Regions from separate parts of the Homo sapiens genome. Here region 1 is linked to region 2. The links are contacts of gene promoters, found by promoter capture Hi-C in human tissues and cell types (Jung and others, 2019). All regions are on one chromosome and are shown on one strand. The core of a region is centred on a gene start or on the middle of the fragment in contact, and the rest is flanking DNA. Distances in the headings are between cores, read along the strand shown.

Region 1 (3,817 bases), core at 394-2,893, 820 kb before region 2:
AAGACTGAAACACAGCTGGCCGGGCGCCGTGGCTCACGCCTGTAATCCCAGCACTTTGGGAGGTCAAGGCGGACAGATCACGAGGTCAGGAGATCGAGACCATCCTGTCTAACATGGTGAAACCCCGTCTCTACTAAAAATACAAAAAATTAGCTGGGCGTGGTGGCGGGAGCCTGTAGTCCCAGCTACCTGGGAGGCTGAGGCAGGAGAATGGCGTGAACCTGGGAGGCGGGGCTTGCAGTGAGCCAAGACGTGCCACTGCACAGTGCAGCCTGGGTGACAGAGCTAGACTCTGTCTCAAAAAAAAAAAAAAAAAAAAAAAAAGATTGAAACACAGCTAAAAAATTCCTGTCACCTAGTAACCTTGTAGTTGTCCTGATGTTGCAGTGCAATGCATTACTCACATGTTTGTGGCAATGCTGGTGGAAACAACCTAACTCGCTGCCAGTCATGTAAAAGTCTAGTACATACAATTATATACAGTAGACAATACTTGATAATAATAAGAAATGACTATGTTACTGTACTGTCTCTCTCTCTCTCTATATATATAAAATTATTATTATTTTTTGAGATGGAGTCTTGCTCTGTTGCCCAGGCTGGAGTGCACTGGCGAAATCTCTGCCCACTGCAACCTCCGCCTCCCAGGTTCAAGCAGTTCTCCTGCCTCAGCCTCCCGAGTAGCTGAGATTACAGGCGTGTGCCACCACGCCCTGGCTAATTTTTGTATTTTTAGTAGAGATGGGGTTTCACCATGTGGGCCAGGCTGGTCTGGAACTCCTGACTTCAGGTGATCCGCCAGCCTCGGCCTACTATATGTTTTAACATTATTTTAGAGTGTACTCCCTCTACTTATATGTGTGTGTGTGTGTATATATATATATATATAAAGATATATATACACACACACGTATATAAAGTTTATATATATATATAGTTAATTGTAAAACTGCCTCAGGCAAGCCCTTCAAGAGGTATCCAGAAGAAGGCATTGTTTATCATAGGAGGTGACAGCTCCATGTGTGTTATTGTCCCTGAAGACCTTCCAGTGGGACAAGATGTGGAAGCAGAAGACAGTGATACTGATGATCCTGACCTTGTGTGTAGGTGTAGGCTAAGGCGCATGTTTGTGTCTTAGTTTTTAGCAAAAAAAAAAAAAAAAAAAAAATTAAAATAGGAAAAAGCCTACTAAATAAGGATATAAAGAAAGAAAATATTTTTGTACATTTCTACAATATTTTGTGTTTTAAGCCAAGTATTACTACAAAAGAGTGAAAAAGCTTTTAATAATTTAAAAAGGTGGTTTTTGTTTGTCTGTTTGTTTGTTTTGAGACAGTCTCACTATGGTGTGCAGGCTGCAGTGCAATGGCAGGAGTACGGATCACTGTAGCCTCGAACTCTTGGGCCCGAGCCATCCTCCTGCCTCAGCCTCTGGAGTAGCAGGGTCTACAGGCACGCGCCATCATGCCTGGCCAAAAAATCAAAAAGCTTATAAAGTAAAAAAGTTACAGTAAGCTAAGGTTAATTTATTATTGAAGAAAGAAATATTTTAAAATAAATGTAGTGTAGCCTAAGTGTACTGCGTTTATATAGTCGACAGTAGTGCACAGCAATGTCCTAGGTCTTCCCATTCACTCACCACTCACTCGCTGACTCACCCAGAGCAACTTCCAGCCTTGAAAACTTCATTCATGGTAAGTGTCCTATGCAGATGTACCATTTTTTGATCTTTTATAGCATATTTTTACTGCACCTTTACTATGTTTAGGTATGTTGAGACACACAGCTACTTACCATTGTGTTACAGTTGCCCACAATATTCAGGACAGTAACCTGCTGTACAGGTTTGTAGCCTAGGAACGATAGGCTATGCCGCATAGCATAGGCATGTAGTAGGTTATACCATCCAGGTTTCTAAGTACACTCTATCGTGTTCACACAACAAAAATCCCCTAAAGATGTATTTTTCAGAATGTATATCCCTGTCATTAAGCAACTCATGATTGTATAAATGCATGTAATTATGATATCCTATATTTATCATATGCTATCAATGTGTGTACATAGTCCATAAATGCCATTTGCATTTTAATACATTCACTTCTATATGAGATTTGTACATACCACAGAGAGAGAAATTATCCAAGATTTATGTAAAATGGTTAATGATTCTGTTGCTTCATCTTTTCTCCTTTAGTTTCCAAGTATATCCAAAATGATGGTGGAGAGGTTGAAGTTAGCATTTTTGCAATTAAACATTTTAAATATCTACTGCATTTTGAAGATGATATAGAAGTGAGTTTATTAAATTTTAAAGAGCACAAGGAGAGATAGGTAAATAGAATGGCGTACCCCAAAATATAATTGTAGTTATCTCTGAATGATGGAATTAAGTGAATGATGTTTCACATTTGTTTTCTTTCTTTTTTTTTTTTGTACTTTTTTTTGAGTTTTCAAACATGACAGGCAGAATTCTAAGACAGCCCCCAAGATTCTGGCCCCTTATAAAGCCCTTCCTTGAGTCTGGATGGGCTCTGTGAATGTGATAGCTTAGTCACTCTGGGGAGTAGGTTGTCTCTCTGACAAATGCAATGGCTAGTGACTACCTTGACTCCTTAGGTTATGTGGACTCCCTCCTAGCAGACTGGAGAGCGGGGTTCTCCTGCTGATTGAAGGAGGATCTCTTGTGAGAGGGCTTGTGAGAGCAAGGAATGGCAGGGGCCTCTTGGAGCTGAGAGCAGCCCCAGCTGACAGCCAGCAAGAAGTCAGACACCTAATCAATGCCTTTGAAGCTGCTAAGCTTGTGATTATTTATTTATTTATTTATTTTGAGACGGAGTTTCACTCTTGTTGCCTAGGCTGGAGTGCAATGGCACAACCTTGGCTCACTGCAACCTCCACCTCCGGGGTCCAAGCAGTTCTTCTGCCTCAGCCTCCCAAGTAGCTGGGATTACAGGCATGTGCCACCACACCCGGCTAATTTTGTATTTTTAGTAGAGATAGAGTTTCACCATGTTGGTCAGGCTGGGCTTGAACTCCTGACCTCAGGTCATCTGCCCACCTTGGCCTCCCAAAGTGCTGGGATTACAGGCATGAGTCACCATGCCCAACCTACTTGCGATCATTTCTTATGCAGCAATGAAGACTGACACATCAACTAATGGTTTTCTTTCTTAAATGAGAGACACAATGAAAGTTAATTTTGAACCACCATCCATTGTTTCTGTAACAAAGCTATACTTCTCAGTGCACTTTGGGATGGGCTGTGTGCATTCAGCAGGCTACACCATGCTTCCGAGTACTGTAGCCACCCCCATCCATGGCGTCACTATCCGCAGTTTCAGTTACCTGCGGTACAGTCCAATAAGATATTTTCAGAGAGATACCTCATTCCTGTAACTTTTGTTATATATTGTTAAATGTCTTAACTGTGCCTAGTTTATAAATTAAGCTTTATCGTAGGTATATATGTACAGTAAAAAACACAGTGTATACGTAGGGCTTGGTGCTACCCATGGTTTTAGGCATCCACAGGTGTCTTAAAGCATCTCACGTGGATAAGGGGGGGATCAGTGCGCTTCCTATCTCTCTAACATCAGCATTGACATGGAGGGGTGTCTTCCCCTTCCCCTTCTCCCTCATTTCCATTTAGTGGCCTGATGATTCCACCTAGGAGTGGCTCCGGGTGAGTTTTCTCCCCTCCATTCCCACTGCCCAGGTCGGGCCCAGGCCGCCTGTTATCCCTCCTGGGACACGACAGCCTCCTCCTAGGTGGGCTCTGCCGAGGTGTCTCCCTCTCCTAGAGTCCATCTCTCTA
Region 2 (3,819 bases), core at 592-3,091:
TCCAGAAAGGAAAGTACTAGGCCCAGATGGTATCACTAGCTAATCCTACCAGATATTTAAGGAAGAAATGACATCATCCTCCCCAATTTCCTCCAAAAATAAGAGCAGAGGCAACACTTCCTAACTCATTCTTTGAGGTTAGCATTAGCCCATTGTCACCTCTCAGTGCCGTCTTCTTCCTGCTTGGTGACCATGGGCTGGCTGGACTTTGAGCTCCGCTGGCTCATCTTCCCTTCACTAGAGAGCAAGTGAAAGAGAGATGACAGGGATGCCTGTCTGGGAGTGGTGGCACTGGGCACTGAAAACCAGTCTGGTGCCACCACTACTGCTGATAATAGCAATAGCTTTTGCTTTCTTGGGGCTGTACCAGCGCCAGAAGTAGCCTTAGCACAGAGTCCCAATTAGACAAGTTTCCATACATTTTTACATTCCACACATTTTCATTTTTATCAAGAATGTACAGTCATCCCTTGGTATCCAGGGGGAATTGGTTCCAGGACCCTCCATGGATACCAAAATCCATGGATGCTCAAGTCCCTGATATAAAAGGTGTAGTATTTACATATAACCTATGCACATCCTCCTGTATATTTTAAATCATCTCTAGACTTATAATACCTAATACAATGTAAATGCTATACAAATAGTTATACTGTATTTTAAATTTTTATATTACTTTTTATTGTTGTTATTTATGTTTTTAATTTTTAGAAAATATTTTGCATTCATGGTTGGTTAGATCCATGGATACAGAATCCACAGATAAGAAGAAATGACCGTATTGATGTACTTGTCTTTTTTTTTTTTTTTTTTTGAGATGGAATTTCACTCTTGTTGCCCAGGCTAAAGTGTAATGGTGTGATCTTGGCTCGCCAAAACCTCTGCCTCCCTGGTTCAAGCGATTATCCTGCCTCAGCCTCCTGAGTAGCTGGAATTACAGGCATACACCATGACACCCAGCTAATTTTGTATTTTTAGTAAAGACAGGGTTTCTCCACGTTGGTCAGACTGGTCTCATTGTCTTACATTTTTTAAAGATGATTTCCAGGCTTCTCTGACCAGATATGTAAAAAATACCAGAACAGAAGAATAAAAAAAGCAGAAGCAGCACTCACTCTCTACCTGCTTGCCTTTTTTGTTGGGTCTCATCTGCTTTCACTTCCTCCTACCAAGTATTCAGAGATCCTGAAGTGATTCTAGGGCTAAGAGCCACATAGATGGGCTCAGAGCAGAACCGGTCCCCAACTACACAGCCTGGAAAGTGTGACAACAGACAGGCGTTTGGATTTTAATTCTTCTAAAAAGATCCTTTTTAGACAGAGTTGTCTTTTGGAGTGGGGATAAAGGAGGCCTGGGGGAGAAGAGAGGGTTCAGAGGTCACGGGGAATCATCCAATCCTACACAAAGCCTCAGAACAGGCATGATGTTCAAACAGCTCCAGTCCAGCCATTTGCAGATGTAAGAGAATAGGAAGATGATGTGAGTCACGGCATCCTTGAGTTTCTCCAACAGCCAATCCCTGCAATTTAAAAAATCTGATTGCCTCGTTATTTATTTGTAACTGAATTCTATTGTATACCTGTAGAGTGAAGCTGGGTAGACATTAAATAACAAGTATGAAAGGGAACCCTACCAGAGATGAAGGACAGACGGGAAAGGAGACGATGACCCACCTGAAGTTGAGATTGCTGTCTCCACTTGCCATCTGCCCCTGCTGGCCCTGCTGGGCCATGAGCTTGGCCTAGGATCACACCCGATTCGATTTTCACTGCCCCGTTCCTTCCTGCAGCTCTGAGGTGAAGCTGCCAACTGCCCCTCGGTGCTCAGTCAAAGAGGAAAAGAAAAGTGAAATTGCCTAACTAGCTGACGTGGGTGCACCAACTCTACAGTCCTCCCTCCACCCAATCTCCATGACGTCTCTCAGTCAAGGGAGGAGGAGCAGAGCCAGCCCCACGAGGCCACGGAAGACAGGGTCACTTGTTCCTGCCAAGGAAAGAGGGTGGAAAAGTCATTCAACTCAAGCAGATCAAAGTTGTTTTGAGGTAAGGTGGCATCATGAGGAGGAAGTAAACTCTGTATTTGTCCCCACCCCTTGCTGAGGTGGCTGAGAAGGACAAGTGAAGACCAGACATTTCAAATCTTCAGTCAGGCTCCAGGGCTGGCCATGCACCTTAGTGAGCCTGGGCTGGATGGCTTAGGCCCAGTGTTTGGACATGGGGCCAGGGAGAACTGAAATAGCATGCATTAGAAAGTGGGGGAGATGCTCTTAGCACTCCATGAAAGCAGACAGAGGTAAAAGACAACTCTCTCAACTCCTCCAGCCAAAGGCAAGTGCTGAGGTTGGGCAGAGAAATGAGGTGCAATTCTAAGTTTTCTCAAATATGTGGGCACTTTACAACAGCAGCCAGGGGTGACTGGGAAAAAAATGAGCTTCAACCATTTCACTGAAATCTTGAGGAGAGTGACAGCCTTCTCACTGGATGGGGAAAGGGTTTGGAGCTGAGATTATCTAGACCTTCAAGGACAATATGATACAGGAGGATAGCTGTATTACATTTATGTTTGCACACAATTTTTCATTTATACCCAGCCCTCATTCTGTAAAGGATTTGAAACAATTTACAAAAACACACTATATCAGCATAAAGTCGAGTGATAAACAAATGGAAGCAAAGGGCAAATATAAAAAATATAACCACAGGACTAGAAATCCAGGCAGAAAAATGGGTCAAAGACAGGGGGCTGATGAGAGCCAGGGTATGGGTAGAATCCAGGGCCAGTGACAGAACAGTAGTGAGGATTGAAAAGCCAGAGGCAAAGCAGTATTTTTCCAAAACATGTGCTCCTGAATCCTACTTTTTCTGGTTCATTACACATATGCAAGGAAATTTGCATACATAAGTTTGCAAAATACAGAGTGCAAGAAATTTCTACCCCTTCCACACTTCTGCTTTCTTTCTACCAAAGGAACAAACACCAATCTGGTTGAGACAAACTCTAGAACACTGATGAGGACACCTTTTCCAGTATCTCTCTCTCTCTCCTCTCTCTCTCTCTCTCTGTCCTCTCTCTCCTCTGTCTCCCTCTCTCTCCCTCTCTCTCCCTCCCTCTCCCTCCCTCTCCCTCTCTCTCCCTCCCTCTCCCTCCCTCTTTAAAACAAGAAGGAAAAGTATGCTGGGCTTCTGTTAGACACAGCTGTCCTCTCCTCCCAGTCTCCATGGGGCTCCAACAAGGCCTGGTACAGACTATACCGCCTGCTCCAGCATCCCCTCTCTCTCTTCTCTCTGCCCTTAGGCAGTAGGCAGACCCAGGACACCAATGAACTGGACATTTTTGAAAATGTGCCAGCTTCTTTTGCTTATAAGCACAAGGCCATTGGTGTTCCTCAGCTGACTGGTGGTAAGATTGGTACTTCAGGGGTACTGCTGCTACTACTAGAAAGCCCTACTTTGCAACACCATGCATTAGCCCAGGTAAGGATAGCCTGAAATTTCAGTTCTATTTCCCACTATCTTGTTTTTCCCTATGCTCACTACAGAACCTCTCCTGGGTAAGGGATTCCTGGGCCAGGCATATGTAGGACCATCAGACCATCTCTGGTTCCCAATGTCTTCCTTTACTGCCACGTGACCAGTGGAGTCAGAAGGCTCCGGCCTGCCTCCTGGCTCTGTTCCCCCATCCAGATTTAGGCCAAGTAGGTCATAATCCCCAAAGGTAAATCAATGCTTTCATTCTACCTGGAAGATTTCTCTTCATTTTGCTAAGCATGCTAGAATCTGACACCTGGAATTGGGGAAATGAATTGTATAGAGTCTTGAT

Evidence for each region. The method cuts DNA at HindIII sites, captures the fragments that hold promoters and counts their contacts. A contact is called where the count stands out against the background at its distance.
Region 1: a fragment that was not itself captured here is called in contact with the fragment with the promoter of SP140 in region 2 in 1 of the 25 tissues and cell types used here (spleen).

The regions. Positions count from the first base shown.
Region 1 is chr2:231,042,018-231,045,834 of GRCh38, reverse strand. All of the region lies in intron 2 of C2orf72 (chromosome 2 open reading frame 72), which reads right to left. Among named protein-coding and RNA genes, the nearest start is that of C2orf72, 6.4 kb to the right of the region's middle. The HindIII fragment of the contact is 5,949 bases long and covers 1-3,817 here.
Region 2 is chr2:230,223,758-230,227,576 of GRCh38, reverse strand. It overlaps SP140 (SP140 nuclear body protein), which reads right to left and starts at 1,841. Exons shown (of 27, transcript NM_007237.5): 1 at 1,674-1,841. The coding sequence starts at 1,732. It also overlaps a transcript of SP110 not described here. RefSeq lists enhancers at 1,252-1,301, 1,322-1,401, 1,472-1,521, 1,752-1,961. The HindIII fragment of the contact is 8,977 bases long and covers 1-3,819 here.